Linked DNA regions of Homo sapiens: region 1 is linked to region 2. The links are contacts of gene promoters, found by promoter capture Hi-C in human tissues and cell types (Jung and others, 2019). All regions are on one chromosome and are shown on one strand. Each heading gives the region's core, a stretch centred on a gene start or on the middle of the fragment in contact. The rest is flanking DNA. Distances are from core to core; before and after follow the strand shown. Region 1 overlaps GAD2 (glutamate decarboxylase 2). Region 2 holds the start of MYO3A (myosin IIIA).

What was found. Contacts are between HindIII fragments. The study calls those that stand out against the background at their distance.
Region 1: a fragment that was not itself captured here is called in contact with the fragment with the promoter of MYO3A in region 2 in 1 of the 25 tissues and cell types used here (H1 embryonic stem cells).

Annotation. Positions count from the first base shown.
Region 1 is chr10:26,263,450-26,268,576 of GRCh38, forward strand. The region is part of intron 8 of GAD2 (glutamate decarboxylase 2); the gene reads left to right. Among named protein-coding and RNA genes, the nearest start is that of GAD2, 49 kb to the left of the region's middle. The HindIII fragment of the contact is 4,527 bases long and covers 1-4,422 here.
Region 2 is chr10:25,930,531-25,935,518 of GRCh38, forward strand. It overlaps MYO3A (myosin IIIA), which reads left to right and starts at 3,699. Exons shown (of 35, transcript NM_017433.5): 1 at 3,699-3,798. It overlaps LOC101929073 (a long non-coding RNA gene), which reads right to left and starts at 3,180. Exons shown (of 4, transcript NR_120650.1): 1 at 3,024-3,180; 2 at 1,778-1,831. The HindIII fragment of the contact is 12,658 bases long and covers 1-4,988 here.

The DNA.
Region 1 (5,127 bases), core at 909-3,408, 330 kb after region 2:
ACAGGCTACCCATGTTGGTATCAGCTATGTAAAGACACGGGGAGCTCTTTTCCCCAGGAGAAATCTCTGGTAATTTTTACTGCTCCTGTGCAATTCATCTTCAACAATTTTTTCCCCAAGTCAGTCTATGCAGTTTCTGTAGTCACTACGCAGTCTGTGCAATTTGAAAATTCACCTGCATCCATTAACTCTCCTTGCCATCTTGATAGGATAGTTTTGCCTAGCACTGACTAGTTAAAAAGCAAATATAAACAAACAACTAGCAGGTTTTTTTTACTGCTATTGCGTTTGAATGCTACACTAGGTAGAACAACATCCTCAAATATGTTTTAGGGTGAGGTTACGTGCTTTTATTATTTACTAGCCAATGCTGATAGCAGTAATTGGGGTCACTGGACCGCTCAATCCAGGGGGCTTCCAGAAAACCACATGGACATTTTGCATATGTCATTACAATCCTAGAAGTCAACCTGAAAAGTTTTTTTGTTAAGTCGGGGTAGTTGTACAGTGCCAAGAATCTAGGTTTTGTTATCAGACAGCTCTAGATTTGAAATCTGCCTCCTGCTAGCTGTGTGACATTCTGCAAGTCATATAATGCTAATAACAACAATAACAATACTACTGCTAATAACAATGTAACAATGTTAGACTGTCAAACACACATTGAGTGGTTACCAAATGTTAGGCAGAGTTTGCTTAATATTGTTTATACTTACTATCTTATGTAACCCTCATACAAATCCTCTGAGACAAATACTATTATCTTATAAATGAGTAAAAAGAAGAACTTAAACTTCAAGTACACACAGTTAGCATATATGATCTGTGGCAGGAACCCACTATTCCATCTCCAGATTTCAAGCTTTTTTTTTTTTTTTTTTGAGACAGAGTCTCGCTCTGTCGCCCAGGCTGGACAGTGGCGCGATCTCTACTCACTGCAAGCTCTGCCTTCGTGTTCAGACCATTCTCCTGCCTCAGCCTCCAGAGTAGCTGGGACTACAGGTGCCCACCACCACGCCCGGCTGATTTTTTGTATTTTTTTAGTAGAGACGGGGTTTCACTGTGTTAGCCAGGATGGTCTCGATCTCCTGACCTGGTGATCTGCCGGCCTCAGCCTCCCAAAGTGCTGGGATAACAGGCGTGGAGCCACCATGCCCGGCCCAGATTTCAAGCTTTTAACCATAGTCAACTGCCTCTCTGAACCTCGGTTTCCTAATCTGCACTGTAAGTGCAAAATAACTCTCTTGTAGGGTCGGGAGGAGGAGCAGGGATCGCACAGTTACTGCTTCTAAAACTGGTCATTTATCGTTGCTGCTGATAGTGCTGCTATTATGTAAACTTAGTCAATTTCTAGCAGGAAGGATGTACGCATACTTTCTTCTTTGCACTCACGTTTTTAGGAATAGAGCTAAGCCCTACTCACTTAGGAAAGGCTGATAGTATCTCTAGTTTCAGCAGGGCCAATGAACGGGGTCAACTAGTGACTCAGGCACCCTACATGTGACCATCTGCAAGCCTGCCTAGAAATACAGACTCTCCAGTAACCTGCTTTCTTTGGTAAGATAATCAGTTCTTCCCTTTGGAGCTATGGGGAATTAGGCATGAAACTGGGACCATGGTCCAAGGTACATTCTGTGTCTTTTTGCTTCTTCCCACAAAGAGAAGATGTTTCCTGCTGGTGATTCTACCTGTTGTTCTTCCTGGGATTTTTCCAGTCAACTTAAGGGAGTTATCTGATCCTATAGCATCATACGACTTTTTTTTTTTTTTTTTTAGACGGAGTCTCACTCTGTCGCCAGGCTGGAATGCAGTGGCACAATCTCGGCTCACTGCAACCTCCACCTCCCGGGTTCAAGCAATTCTCCTGCCTCAGCCACCCGAAGTAGCTGGGACTATAGGTGTGCACCACCATGCCCAGCTAATTTTTGCATCTTTAGTAGAGACGAGGTTTCACCGTGTTGGCCAGGATGGTCTCAATATCTTGACCTCGTGATCCACCCGCCTCAGCCTCCCAAATTACTGGGATTACAGGTGCGAGCCACCGAGTATGGCCAGCATCATACGACTTCTTAAAGGCTACTGCTAACCAAGGATCTCAATGCAAAACACCTTGTCCAAAGCAGCAGTCTGTTTCAATGGCCCTGACTTTAGTAGCAGTCCCTTCCTAAACACTAACAACTAACTGAGAGCAGTGTTATAAAGCATCAGTGGCCACTTAACTGTAAGCTTAAAGGCTGGATGTATAATTATTAAAGATATATGCTTACGTTATAGACATACTTTTAGACCACACAAAGAGTATGGAACAGTCGCCATCCAAAGCCTCCCAGGCACCAGGCGATGCTTGTGCAGAAAGGCCAGGACTGATCCAACAGCTTCTCATCTGCAGAGGACAATCTGTTGGTTGTCACCCAATTGTCTCTGTCCCCGCAACATATGGGCAGTCAGAGGATGGACAAGGCTACATCTGGAGCTCCTTCTGCTCACTGCCCTGCAGCCCTGAAGGCTCCAAACCATGGCACATATGAGAAGTACTTAGTGTGTTCCACAGTTATTTAAATACCTCCCAGGCTAAAATGTCCCAAGCAGCTTTTCTTAACATATGGACCCAGGTCTACGTGCATCAGAATCACCTGGGTGACTGATGAACATGCAAATTCTTGTGCATATTTGTCTTTTTATCAGTTTATTATTTGTCTCCCTTGATAGCATGGAAACCCTGGAGAGTAGAAGCTGTCTTGTTTACCCTGCTACCCCAGTTCCTGCAACACTGCTTGGCACATAGCAAGTGCTCAATAAATATTTGTGGGATGAATTAATTCCTGGGCCCTATGCTGACCTACTCAATCAAAATCCCTAAGAATGGGGCCATGTATTTTAAACCGGGACTTCAATGATTATTATGCTCACTAAATTTTAAGAACCAGCGTTCTAAGGTAATCCGGCCAATTCTAAGATAGAGAAAAAGATGGTAAGTTTCCTCCCCCAAGGCGTCCATATTCACTATCTGGTCAGACATTAAGTTAAACATATTAATAGCCTTGGGTTAAACTTTCCCTTCTAGCCATATTCCTCCAACAAATGTTTATCTACCACCTGCCATATGTCAGGCTCTGGGTCCTAAGTAGAGAAAACAAATATAGTTTTGGAAGGCAGAGTGCCCAGGAAAAACTAGAGCCACCCCCATTCCTTTCCAATCTGCCAGAGGTGAACACTTGGAGTTCATGGTTTGACAAGCCTACTCCCTCCTTCTGCCCAAAGTTCGCTGATACAGGAAAGAAACAGACTATATGTTCATTACTGTTTTCCCGGCAGGTTTGTATGACACCTCTGGTTCATGAAAGTCAGATGTGAGCTTAAAATATTTATCTTATCTTAAAATAATCAAACCTTTCCAAACAGGTTTCCTATATGTTTGGCACCTTTGAGTTTGTTCTGGAAGCTTAGATTATATTTTGAGTTACTCCCTGGACTTTTACCAGTATTTGATCTTGGGCAGTCACTTCTCCTTTCAGGCTGTTGCCTTATTTGAAAAATGAGAAGGTTCGACTAGAATCAGGCATGTCTTGGAGCCCCTTCCAATTTGAATGCACTCTCATCTCTGACTCCTCAGTGCCATCTTACTGCCTTATACTTAAAAAAAGTTAAGTATGATATGATTTGATGAGCAAATAATGATTGTCAAGCTAGTCTACCCAAAATTCTCCCAGGCAAAGGTGTTTAGCTTTTGGTAAAGTTGGGTAAAATTCAAGATTTGCAAAAAAAAATTTCTAAGAGTTCTCACTCTCAGTTTTCTTGTTTACCTGCAAAAATACTATGGCAATTTTAATGTGCTTTAAACTTTATGTAAAAGATAAAGATAATACCCACACTTTCTCAGAAATTTGAACTTTTTATTTATATCAGGGCTGGAGCAAGGTGCTTTAGCACAGCCTGATCTGATCAGGTTGAAAATCACTGCTTTAAGGGATGCCCCCAGGCAAAGTTATGAAGTGTAGGAAGATTTATAAGGAGTGAGAAGCTCTCTGTGTCCTTTCCTCAACCACATCACCCTCCCTTCCCTCCCCTCAGTCTCACAGAAGTTCCCCAAAGGTAGGCTGCCCTAATCTAAGTCCATAGTCTTTGCATCAAATGTAACTGTAATGCCCCTTTTTCCATTCCAGCCTGACAAACTAATCACTGGTAACTTGTCCATTACCATTGCCCAGGTAATTGTCTTTCTTTGGGAAACAGCTTCACTTAAATCAGTGATTCCCAATGCTTTGAGGTTTCATGTCTGCTTTATATTCCAATTATTTTGTCACGCCTCCTTTATTGGCCTGAAAAAAAAAAAGGGTCAAAAATATAACTTACCCTTCTCACTATATAATGCCCAAATTATTTTTTTAAATGAAGAAATGTGATAGAAGTAATTTGTAATAAATTAACTTATTTCAATATGTAAAAGCCTAAGCAAGACAGCACTAGAAGCTGTGATGAAGTCCAGTGCTTGCTGTATGTCTAGACTCACAGGGAGAGCCACAAAGGTACTATGGAGTCAATGACAAATACCAAAAACCCCACTCACTGCTCACTATATGCCAATAGCATCCCACAACCACTGATTGTGATAATCACCTCTACCATCAGTTATTTTTCCAAAAAGCCTTTTAAAAACCTAGATCAATGACCCTGATGCAAAGTTGGCTATGTTAGCAACCTCCAGAGAGCTATTTTGACTTAAAGAATGTTTCTCTGGGCCGGGCACGGTGGCTTACGCCTGTAATCCCAGCACTTTGGGAGGCCGAGGCAGGCAGATCACAAGGTCAGGAGATCGAGACCATCCTCGCTAACACGGTGAAACCCCGTCTCTACTAAAAATACAAAAAATTAGCCAGGCATGGTGGCGGGCGCCTGTAGTCCCAGCTACTCGGGAGGCTGAGGCAGGAGAATGGTGTGAACCCGGGAGGCGGAGCTTGCAGTGAGCCAAGATTGTGCCACTGCACTCCAGCCTGGGCGACAGAGCCAGACTCTGTCTCAAAAAAAAAAAAAAAAAATGTTTCTCTGTCTCTCGTACCATGATTATTATAATATTAAGCAAAGCAGTATCTGTGTTTTTATTTTAGGAAAGAAGCATTTTTAGGGTTG
Region 2 (4,988 bases), core at 2,449-4,948:
ACTCTAGGATGGCGAAGGCCTAAATAAGGCAATATCAGCAGAATAGAGAGATAAGGCTAAATTTGAGAACTAATTTGATTGGGCTGCAGTTCATGTACAAATATCACAAGGTAGGGTTTATGAAGCTCAGAAAGCAGGAATGAGCAATCTTTCTTCCCTTAATTGATCTCCCAGATCACTGGGTCACTTGTGCTGGGCTAACTGATGAGACGCCATTAGTCTACAAGGTGGAAGTTTGCTCCTGGCAAGTGCACTCATTTTTTTTTCTCTCTCTCTCTCTTTTTTTTTTTTTTTTTTGAGATGGAGTCTCGCTTTGTCATCCAGTGCAGAAGCGCGATCTTCGCTCACTGAGATTGCTCCACCTCCCCAGCCTCCTGAGTAGCTGGGATTACAGGCATGAGCCACCTTGCTCGGCCCAGTTCTGCTTTCTCTGAGTCTTTTTGCCAAGAAGTAGATGAGTCGGTTAAAACTGGAATGAGGCTGGACTGTGGCACGCACCCGTAGTCCCAGATACTCAGAAGGTTGAGATGAGAGGATCTCTTGCACCCAGGAGTTTGAGACCAGCCTGAGCAACATAAGGAAAAACAAAAACTTAAAAAAAAAAAAAAAGTTGATATTGCCAGGTGTAAGATGAACAGGACACCATGCTTCTTCCAAGGGCAGGCTGTGCTGTGAAATGTCAACAACAGTCCCCTTTTTTGAGTGACTACTTCTTTCTAACTCATTGGAAAATCTTGCTTCCTATGCTCATAGACTATCAGAAAATTTGATTTTTGAAATTATGTCAGTAAAAATGAAACCTCCCATAATTGCTTGTAGGATCTAACTCACTTTGACAACAGAGACATGGCCCCGATTTACAACTCAAGTACAGAGCTTCAGATAAGGAGTTTCCCAAGACAGCATTCCACATTTATCCAAGGAAACAGAACCCTTGGTCACAGCCCAAACCTCATGTTGACTCCCAGCTCTGCTTTGCTTTGAGCCTATCAAAACTCCACTTCATGGTTCCTCTAGTTTGCAGTATCTCTACTGTAACATTGAGTCAATGAACCTGACTTTGTGGGACTGCAGGTTTTGTCCTTGATGGTCTTAGGCTGGTTGGATTGGACACACTATTCTATTCCGTGTTAATGCCATTCTTTTCATTATTATAGCTTAATTACATGTTTCTTTTTTCATTGCCTTATCAAAAGGTTCTCAGGGCTGGAGGCAGTGGCTCACACCAGTAATCCCAGCACTTTGGGAGGCTGAGGTGGGTGGATCACAAGGTCAGGAGATCGAGACCATCCTGCCCAACATGGTGAAACCCTGTCTCTACTAAAAATACAAAAATTAGCTGGGCATGGTGGCGGTGCCTGTAGTCTCAGCTACTCGGGAGGCTGAGACAGGAGAATCACTTGAACCTGGGAGGCGGAGGTTGCAGTGAGCCGAGATCGTGTTACTGCACTCCAGACTGGCAACAGAGTGAGACTGACTCCGTCTCAAAGAAAAAAAAAAAAAAAAGTTCTCAATTTTTTTTGTCTTAGAACCTTCCTTTATTTACACTCTTAAAAAGTTTTGAGGACTCCAAAGAACTTTTATGTTATAGCAATTAAAACTGAGAAATTTTAAAAATATATTTCACTACTAAGCTCATTACATGTTAACATGAATAGCATATTTTTAAGTGAAAAATACCTGTATTTTCCAAAACCAAAAAAGTTTAATGGTAAGAATGGCATTATTTTATATTCTTGCACATTTCTTTAATGTCTGGCATAACAGAAGACGTTACCTGTTTCTGCATTCAATCTGTTGTGATATCACATATTATGGAGCCACTGGAAAACTTCATCATAAATTCATTTAAAAAATGGGAGAGAAAAAGGAGTGGAAAAAAGTCTTATTATTAAAGTAATTTTGGTCCTGTGAACCTCCCGAAATGGTTTCAGAGACCGCCCCCTGACCCCCAACAAATTTCCCCTAGACCACACTCTGAGAACCACTGGACTTAGCTCTTCTAGCTTCTGTAGTTTTCATATGAATTCTAGAATATATTTGTCTCTTAATTTGGGAGGTAGTAATTATGTGTTTAACATCTTGTCTTCTAACTTAGGATTCCAGTGTCTTTCCAATTATAAATAGTCTGTCAACAATCCTGCATTTTTAAATTTTTTCCCACTTTTCTCCTATATTTCTCATTTTTTATCATTCTTAGTTATTTCATGTTCTTTCATGCTTCTATTGTGAATGGGATCTATTTTTCTATTGTATTTTAATTGGGTGTTGTTTGTCTCTATTGAGATTGTGACTTTATTTTGCATGTGAGCACTCAGTTGCTCTAATTCTTAAAATCTCCCAGGTATGTCCAAATGGCCATAATTATGTTGAATAATATATTTGCTGTGATCTGTTTTTGATGAGATAACTTCTTGATTTGAAGCTGTTCATATATGTTAGGCTTTTGATTCAATATAATCCCTATTACAAGTCCACTATTCAATTTCTAATTTTTTTTTTTTTTTTTTTCGAGACGGAGTCTCGCTCTATCGCCCAGGCTGGAGTGCAGTGACGTGATCTCGGCTCCGTCACTGCAAACTCTGCCTTCTGGGTTCACGCCATTCACCTGCCTCAGCCTCCCAAGTAGCTGGGACTACAGGGGCCTGCCACCATGCCCGGCTAATTTTTTTGTATTTTTTAGTAGAGACGGGGTTTCACTGTGTTAGCCAGGATGGTCTCGATCTCCTGACCTTGTGATCCGGCCGCCTCGGCCTCCCAAAGTGCTGGGATTACAGGCGTGAGCCACCGCGCCCGGCCCAATTTCTAAATTTTAAAGCTACTTTAAGAGGAAGGGTCTTGAATATACTGAATGACCTTTTGAAACAGATTTTTAACATCACATTTTTTCCTTAAGATATGCATTGATTAGGATTAGATGACCTCTCTTTGGTCTCTTCTATAATTCTCATTTAGATAACATGAACGACAGACCCATTGAGATAATTAACAGAATCAAAGGATGTTTTGGTTGTAGTTCTCACCTGTTCAATGGATGAAGGTATAGCAATACCCAATATGTCCCTAGAGACTGTTCAAGAGAATCTGGCCATCAGGGTCCCCCCAGGTGAGCCCTGTGTGACAGGAGACCACAGAAGGTCTGGAAAGGATTGCAAAGGACCAAGTAGAGGGTTGGTGACTAACGGGCTGCCTCCCGAGGGTAGAAGTTCTTGCCTTTAACTTCAGCCCCAGCCCCAAACTCCTTAGCAGTCTGCAAAAGGGAACTGGACCCTGGGAGCGATCTCATTAGCCACTCACTATCCCTCTTGGACCTGAAACCCATTACATTTTCCGGGTCCGAGACCCTCGTAGTGTGGGGAATTTCCTGGGAGGAAGATACTACGCGGGGCCGGGAGCAGAATTTGCTCCAGGCACTGGGCCAGTCCATGAGGGCTCCAGGATCCAGGGGCCCCACTCCCTTCTCGCCGGGCTCCGGGCCAAGGAAGCGCGGCCGGAGTCCCGGGAAGCCCCTCGGCAGCCAGCCAAGGGCCCTGCGAGGATGTGGATGGCGCGGATGGCGCGGCCTCCACCTGCGGGCAGTGGAGAGAGCGGCGAGAGGAAGAATATTCCCCGCGAGCCGGGATAAGGGGCCCCTTCGGCTCGGTTGACCCAGGTCAGATCCTCCCGCCGACCTTCGGCCCGCCCTCTACAGGCGGCCCAGTTCTTCCCCTGCTCGGCTGCCCCTGCCCGCCCCTCGAGGGAGCGCCCGTAGCCAGCGCCCCCGTAAAGAAATAAGGAGGCGCCCGGCTTCCCGCCCAGGTACGTGTCGGGACAGCGCAGGGGACTGGCTTGGGGCGGCGGTGGGTAGCGGCGCCCGCGCGGCGCTGGAAACGGCCCCGCTTCCTTGGACCCCGGGGCTTGCAGGGCGGGCCCGGGGCTCTCTGAGCGCGAGGCTGCCGCGACCGCCCGCCCGCCCAGGTCAGATCCGGAGGACCTGTGTGTTTGTCGGGGCCTGGGGTGAGAGAGGGGACTCGAGGGGAGAAGTAGAGCGGGAAACCAAGAGGGGGAATGTGAGGCTTGAACGAGCTGGATGGGAGAGCTCGAGGGGAGGAGAGGGATGAACTTGAGGGGGAAACGGGGGCGGGGGTGAACTCGAGGGGGAGCCAGGAGGAGGGAACGGGAAGGGTGAACCTGAGGGGTGGACTTGAGGGAAGATCTTGTGGGTGAACCCGAGGAGGGAACGCGAGGGGATAGTGAGGGGGGATCTCGAGGAGGGAACGTGAGGAATGAACTTGAGGAGGGAACGGGAGGGGTGAACGTGAAGTGGAAACAGGAGGAGGGAACGGGAAGGGTGGCGTAAGGGGTGAAGGAAGATCTTTAGGGGTGAACTTGGGAAGGAAACGTAAGGGGAGGACCTCGAAGAGTAACGAGGGGCGAGAACTGAGGGGGCCCTGCAGGGAGACTGGAGGGAGGAGGCGCCGAGTCTGGCGGGTGTCGCCTCGGAGACCTGTGGCGCGCGCGGGCTTTGCGGCGCCGCCCACAGGTGGCGCTGGGTCGGCCCGTCCCTGAGGGAACTGCGTTCCGGGTGATTTCTCAGAACAAGCAGGTCGGTGGAGCTGGGCTCCCTGCAACCCCAAATGCATCCGTAAAGGAGTTTTAATTTTAAGGAGAAAGAGCAGACAAGAAAAGTATGATCATTATTGAGAAATAGAGAAACCTACCAGGAAAGGATGTCCTTTCAAGTCTGCTCACCAACAGCTCTGTTCTGTTCTCCAAGTAGTTGCTAACTCGCACCTTGCTACTATCCCCCTTCCAGAAAAAAAATTTTATTATTGTTAGAATGGAAATTGGCCATAAGCCTTGAAATGACTGTTGTAATGCCACTGAACCCTACACACTAAGCGTTTTTGAAAACTCAAAAGAATCTTCATTTCTGGTTGTTTCTAGTTTTCTTGGTGAATTAACTAATTGTACAGGTGCACTTAAACCTTCTTAAGCATTTTTATAAT